Linked DNA regions of Homo sapiens: region 2 is linked to region 1. Evidence: promoter capture Hi-C in 16 types of primary human blood cells and fetal thymus (Javierre and others, 2016). All regions are on one chromosome and are shown on one strand. Each heading gives the region's core, a stretch centred on a gene start or on the middle of the fragment in contact. The rest is flanking DNA. Distances are from core to core; before and after follow the strand shown.

Region 1 (3,697 bases), core at 260-2,759:
TGTGACCCACAAATCATCAATTTAGTAAATGTCAGCCAGCATTTTTTTTAATGCAAGAGGGTGGAATATAATAGAAATTAGCAGAACATATCACATATAATAAGGGTAAATACTGCTTTGTGAAAGTTTCCCTTCATACCTACGTATGTACTAGATCTGAATGTAAGACATACTTATTACTGTGGGGCATAATTTTTTTTTTTTTAAGTTTGAAAGCTACCACCCTAGAGATCTGGGTCTAATGCATCTCAGGACCCAAAGAGTGAATGTTTTCCTTAGTCCTCAGCACCTATTCATACTCTTTGCTCAAGATAGACTACTGGAAACGTAAGAGCTCCACAGCAGCATGACATGAACAAGGGACAAGCCCCAGCTCAGCCTGTATTTGGACTTGAAAGCATTACCAACTTCTCTCAACAGCCCTAGGCGTTGCCTACAAGCTCTTTGTAGCCTAGCAACCTTCACAGTAGAGCTCCTCCTTTCTCCACTGACTGTATACAGTTCAACACTTCCAACCAACTTTCCTCAACTACAACTTCTGGAATCACTGTGTCCCAAGAAAAGACTATTAAATCTCCTCTCTTCACCAATTCCCAGAATGTCTTCCTACTAGCGGACCTAGAACTCAACAGAGAAGCTCCACACAGATCCTTACTTCCCCCAAGATCCCACGACAAGGCACCCGCCTGTCAGTCCAACACCCTCGTTCTCAGTCTCCCAACCTTGGGGCAAATCTTTTCTCCCAAAAGCCCTTATTCAATTACCACATCCACATCCTTTTATCAGCCCCTGGTAAGAGCAGGCCTAATGTCCCAAGGGCCTAGACATGCCCGTCCTTCCCCCAGCAAACCTCCCTGGGGACATGTCCTCTTTTCTGGGATTCAGTAGTTCAGAGACAAGTTTCCTATTTCCCCAGCAGTCCCAGACACGTCTCCCTCTTCTAACAGCTGGGAGGCATCTACCCATCCCCCACGCTGGGGCAAGGTGAGACGCCTAGATTCTCCCAGGAACCCGGGCAGGCTCCCCAACACGCCCTCCTCCAACCCGGGACCAGTCCCCCAGCCCAGCCCAGCCCAGCCCAGCCCAAGACCCTCCCAGCTCCGCCATAGCCCAGGCCAGGCAGGCCCCATCCTCCCTCTAGCCCCAGGGCAGGTCTCCCATCCCCACAGCTGCTCGAGACAGGCCCCATGTGGCTTTCACCCTTCCCCGAGTGTCCTATCCCAGCACCCTGCAGGAGCGACCCTCCGCGCCTCGGCTCCAGAGGGGAACGCCTCGGGCCTCGAGAGCCCGGCAGAGCCAGCGGGCCCGGCTCCACTCACCCCTCAGCCCGGGAGGCGGGGGAGCTACTGCGGCGGCTCCTCTGGCTGCGCCTCTCCTCCCCCCTCCCGGCCACCGCTGTCGCCGCCGCTCAGCCTCGGGCCTGGTCCCGGCCAGCCCCGGCCCGGCGCCGCTTCACCTAGTCCCCCACTCTGGCCGCCGGAGCCCAGTGTCCTGCATTGACCCGGAAGCAGCTTTCCCGGCCCAACAACAACACGTGACCCCGCCGCACGTGTCACGTCCGCTGCGTGAATGGGAGGGGGCGCCGGAGGAGCGGGTCCTCCCCAACCGCGCTGGGGTTGCCATGGCGACGGGGATGGCTGCACTGGCTTAGGCTTTACCACAAACACCTCATCTGCTCTTTCTCGTGCCCACCCATTGAGTGGACAATCCCCAGGGGCAGAACAGGAGTACACATTGTCATATCAGAGGACAATAGGGGCTGCAGAAAAGAGCATTGGGCTGAACCTTTCCAGAAACACTTGGAATCTTGGCCTGGCTCTGTTACTGATTTGCTGTGTGACCTTGACCAAGTCTCTTCCTATCTCTGGCTTCAGTGTCCTCAACCATAAAATGAGGGAACTATACTAGATGAGCCCTCAGGGTATGGTGGCAGTCTGACCTTTCTTCTGTGCCCCCTTCACAAGTGGCATCCCGAGCTTCCAACACCAATGTAGTAACAGCAGCTTTCATTTATTGAGCACTTTCTAGGTACAGGCACTGCGCATGTGCTATTTTTAATTTTTACAGCCCTCCAAAGAGATGGTATTTATAGAATTGAAAACAAGTTCAGAGTGCTTAAGTGATCTGCCCAAGACCACCCAGTTAGTAAATGTGACCAGGGTGAGATTTGAATCCAGGTCAGGCTGGCACCAGGGTCCATGCACTTCACTTTATGCCACGCTATTGCTCCAACTCCATGCATAGTATTACTATATCTGACTGTTGAGCTGTGATTGCTTATGTACTCCTTCGTCCATTTCTTTTGCAGAAACATACATGGAATAGGCGTGGTGCTGGCTCAACCCCAAGTGAATTCAGCCTTGTATGGGAATGTCCCCTGAAGTGCTAGGAGATGAAGATGTCTTTGTGCATAAAGTGTATGTGCTTCTGTGTGGTGTGTGCCAGAAAAGACGTGGGGGATGTAATGTGCATGTGCATGTCTGCATTGGTTTCTAGAAGGGGGAAACAAAATTATTTAGGACAGACCCAATAGCACCTTACCATCATCAGTTCCTGGAGACTTATTTTTGTCATTCTGTTTTGTTTTCTCATATCCCATAGGTAGGGTTAGACAGGGTAGAGAGGAAAAAAAAAAGCCAGAAGGTCATGGGTAAAGAAACTGCTCTGAGTATAAAGGGGATGATTAGCCAAGAATTGTATCTTAGGTTGCTCAGGAAGGGGCTTTACTCCCCCTTCCACAGAGAACAGAGTGCCTTTCTTGGCAATTTAAGAATTACTGGCTTTCAGAGCACTGAGATCATTAGCATTGTGTCCGGAATTGGTGGGTTCTTGGTCTCACTGACTTCAAGAATGAAGCCGCGGACCCTCGCGGTGAATGCTACAGCTCTTAAGGTGGCGCGTCTGGAGTTTCTTCCTTCTGATGTTCGGATGCGTCCGGAGTTTCTTCCTTCTGGTGGGTTAGTGGTCTCGCTGGCTCCGGAGTGAAGCTGCAGACCTTCGCGGTGAGTGTTACAGCTCATAAAAGCAGTGTGGACCCAAAGAGTGAGCAGTACTAAGATTTATTGAAAAGAGCAAAAGAACAAAGCTTCCACAGTGTGGAAAGGGACCCGAGCGGGTTGCCACTGCTGGCTCGGGCAGCCTGCTTTTATTCTCTTATCTGGCCCCACCCGCATCCTGCTGATTGGTAGAGCCGAGTGGTCTGTTTTGACAGGGCGCTGATTGGTGCATTTACAATCCCTGAGCTAGACAAAAGGTTCTCCACCTCCCCACCAGATTAGCTAGATACAGAGTGTCCACACAAAGGTTCTCCAAGTCCCCACCAGAGTAGCTAGATACAGAGTGTCCATTGGTGCATTCACAAATCCTGAGCTAGACACAGGGTGCTGATTGGTGTGTTTGCAAACCTTGAGCTAGATACAGAGTGCCGATTGGTGTATTTACAATCCCTGAGCTAGACATAAAAGTTGTACACGTCCCTACCAGACTCAAGAGCCCAACTGGCTTCACCCAGTGGATCCCGCACCGGGGCTGCAGGTGGAGCTGCCTGCCAGTCCCGCGCCGTGCGCCCGCACTCCTCAGCCCTTGGGTGGTGGAAGTGACTGGGCGCCGTGGAGCAGGGGGCGGCGCTCATCGGGGAGGCTCGGGTCGCACGGGAGCCCATGGAGGGGGTGGGAGGCTCAGGCACGGCGGGCTGCAG
Region 2 (3,680 bases), core at 77-2,576, 690 kb after region 1:
CCGCTCACCTGGGCACCTGCCGGCTCCGGGGGGAGAGCGCTGCATGAGCCGGAGGCGCAGGGCTGCGGGAGAGCAGCTGGGGACTGCAGCCAGGGTTTCTCGGTATAAATATTACTTTTAGGCTGTTTCTGCCTTGGCAAAATGAAATGTGTTATTTGCCAAATTGATAAAGCATGGTGCTTTCCATGGCGACTTAACAAGCGTGTTGTGGAAAGAACTGGGAGAAGAAAATGAAGTATATTTATCCAGTAAATAGCATTACGGTTCTCTCTGAAGGATTCCCAAACGGTTTTTCGGTTTTTTCCCCTACTGGGTAGAGAGCTTTAGATACCCATCTAGTTTTATGATTGAATAATTCAGTATTTTGGCAATTTAGGTACCACATGTAATACAGTTCTTCAGTTCTGCCTGCAAACATCCAAAGTGGCTATTCCCTTTATCCAACTATTTTCAGACTTTTGAGCTTAAACCTATGTTGGTGACAAGGGATTTCAGCCATTTTGTGGAATCCAAGTAGCAAATCAAATCTAATAAACAGTGGATGTGGAGAGAGGAAACAATTACCTCTTAACAATGCTGTTGCAAAAAGTCATTCCGCAACAGTTCATGAAAGGATCATTATCCCCGAATAGAGGCATGAGCTCACGCTGACGTTAGTTAGAACGGGGGGGAAAAAAAGGAAAAGATAAACAGAGACCAGAGACGACTCTTTATTGCTCGATTTTTTAGGTTCAAGGCACAGCCAACTAATTTTGTAATGTTTATTTTTGGAAAGAATAGAAGCAGATTAGCCAAGGCACTTCCCTAATGATGAGACCAGGACACATTGCCACCTGCTGGTGTATTCTAGCATGACAATTCTACCCTGAAGACTCTTAAATTGAGTGTTTACATGCAACCGGAAGGAATCCCATTCATATATATATATATATATATATATATATATATATATATACACACACACACACATATACACATATACACACATATATACATATATACACATATATATACATATATATACACATATATATACACACATATATACATATATATACTGACCAAAATGCAAACCTTATCCCCAAACTTAATAAATCTTTCTTAAAAGTACTAAATATCTTATTTTCCCCTATCCTAATAATGTTACAGTGTAAGTATAAAATTAATTGAACCCAATGACTCATCAAATCATGCATTTTGGAGTTCCTCTCTTCCCTTAATACTTGAGGGAAGCCTCAATACTTAAGCTTCAGGAATAAAACAAACTGGGAAAGTTTCCTAATTCACCTTCTCTTCCTTGCATACAAAACCTCTTGGCAAGCTGCTTTCAAGATCTTTCCAAACTTAAACAGACCCACGGTTCTAGCTGTGAGCAAAGAAGGCATTTTGCTGTGGGAAAGCTTCAGAAGATGGTAAGCAAAAGATTGAATTAAGCCAGTGGTTATTCATTCCAGAACTAATTTTTTTAAATGATGAAAATCTCTATAGTCACCTACAAAGCATTAATGATTTAAAAAAAAAAAAAACTGAAAGCCTCTTTAAAGCTGCCGATAGCTCAACTGTTCTAAAGGCTGTAACTATAGGATGCCTTCAGAAAGTCAAGCCAGTCTGGGTAGAACACACTCCTCAGGGTCCGTAGTACTTTACTTAGAAAAATGACATTGATGACCCAATCCACTGGGAAAACCTTTGAGGAGGTTTTCCAATGGGGATGATTCTAAACCACATTCTCATCCTCTTGTCCATTCTTTCAACATGCTTACTAAGTATCTACTATGCATCCCAGACTGTTTTAGGCATTGGTAGTACAGTCCTCAAGACAGGGCCTCCAGCTGTCTTCAGATGATGTCTCTGATGTCAACTCACTTGACATCAACATTTTCAAGACAAGTGTCCAAACAGGTGGCAGAACAAGAAACACATTAAGGTTCTTCCTCTCTCTTTTGGCAAACTGTTTTGTGTATGTCAACTGTTACCCCCCAAAATAAAAAAAAATAGGGGGAATGATGGATAATGAACAGCAGATTAGAGATATTCACTAGTAAGTATGAATACAGGTCAACATTTCTACAGGTCAAAAGGCTTTTTTTAACTTCTTGGCAAAACCACCACATAAATATAAAGACAGACTCTGGGTTTATAAAAAGTTGTTTTACTTTTATAAAATTTAGTACAAATCTTATGGAAATATAAATCGTTCTTGAACAGTGTTCGTTATCATTACACAGTAATCCAGTGCAAATGAGTACTTCATTTTGTCCAAGTATACCACACATTAATTAGCCCTTCATTTACCTGTGGTTTCAGAACTTAGCATTGTCTTAACTGCTGAGTCATCTTCAGTTCACATTGTTCTCTCAGAAGTTTTTTCATAGTTATTAGTAACAACATCAAGAAAAGCTGAAATGAGGGATTCCCTTCCCCTTACCAATTATTCAGATTTCTCACCATTCAAAAAAACCTACATACAGTTCCATGAAAGTGTCCCCAAAACAACAAGATCTGCAGTCCCTTCACTTCTGAGGAGTAAGAGAGAAAAAGAATTGGTACCAGATTAAGCCTGTTCATTTGTCTGGTATGGAACAGGTTGCACTGTGCCAAAATTCAAGAGCCAGCTTTTTTTCTTTTTTTTAAGCTCATGTGCCAGGCCACTCTTTTCTACAAGCTTTTGCTAAAATCAGCATTCCCCAGCATCCTACTTTGACCGCAATTTTGTTGGAAAGAAGCTTACCAGCATTTTAGGGGCGCTCATCATAGAAAAAAAAAAAGTGGAGATTAAGAAAAAAAACAGGAAGTGGAGATGCTGTCAGATTATCTCAATGCCCAGCAAAACTCTTTAACCAAATGACATTCATTTTTAAAGACCCACTGTTAACATGCATTTAAAGTTACTGTTTCCCTAACAGTGATGACTTTATACCATTCCAACCACTCCCTCATACCTGGTTTCTGTGGCCAAGACCATTTTTCATTTTCAAGACCGCTCATGGCTGGGCACGGTGGCTCACACCTGTAATCCCAGCACTTTGGGAGGCCGAGGCGGGTGGGTCATGAAGTCAGGAGTTCAAGACCAGCCTGGCCAACATGGTGAAACCCCGTCTCTACTAAAAATACAAAAAGTAGCCAGGCATGGTGGCACACGCCTGTAGTCCCAGCTACTCGGGAGGCTGAGGCAGGAGAATCACTTGAACACAGAAGGCGGAGGTTGCAGTGAGTTGAGATCACACCACTGCACTCCAGCCTGGGCGACAGAGCAAGACTCTGTCTCAAACAACAACAACAACAACAACAACAACAAAAGACACCATTCATTACGTTAGATTACCAGTGGCCATGGAATGGACTGATGCTTCCTACTGACCAGCCTTGACTCCAGTAGCACCATATGCTTGCTCACCCACTGAGCTAATCAAACACCATTGACTTCAATAACATGGTAAAAATAAATAATCAATAAATACATAAATACTTCATATTTCCATAAAAGCCCTACATTAAAGACCTCCATTAATAAAATGCCACATAATGTATTTATGAAATATACTACAGGGTATTTCATTCATTCACAATAGGTTTAAACTCAGGCAAAGAAGAAACAAGTAACCTATCCAAAGTGAGTGAGTAGCTCTCCAAAGTGGCAAGTGAGTAGCAAAATTAGTTAAAAGAACCCAGGAATTCTG

Evidence for each region. Contacts are between HindIII fragments. The CHiCAGO score rates a contact against its expected background, and 5 or more counts as called.
Region 2: a fragment that was not itself captured here is called in contact with the fragment with the promoter of TBCEL in region 1 in 1 of 17 cell types (total CD4 T cells); the score reaches 5.2 in total CD4 T cells.

Annotation. Positions count from the first base shown.
Region 1 is chr11:121,021,914-121,025,610 of GRCh38, reverse strand. TBCEL (tubulin folding cofactor E like) reads right to left here and starts at 1,509. Exons shown (of 9, transcript NM_001363644.2): 1 at 1,320-1,509. TBCEL-TECTA (TBCEL-TECTA readthrough) reads right to left here and starts at 1,509. Exons shown (of 30, transcript NM_001378761.1): 1 at 1,320-1,509. RefSeq lists silencers at 1,256-1,525, 1,546-1,695. The HindIII fragment of the contact is 3,156 bases long and covers 1-3,087 here.
Region 2 is chr11:120,332,139-120,335,818 of GRCh38, reverse strand. It overlaps TLCD5 (TLC domain containing 5), which reads right to left. Exons shown (of 3, transcript NM_001198671.2): 3 at 2,133-3,680. Among named protein-coding and RNA genes, the nearest start is that of ARHGEF12, 2.4 kb to the left of the region's middle. The HindIII fragment of the contact is 153 bases long and covers 1,250-1,402 here.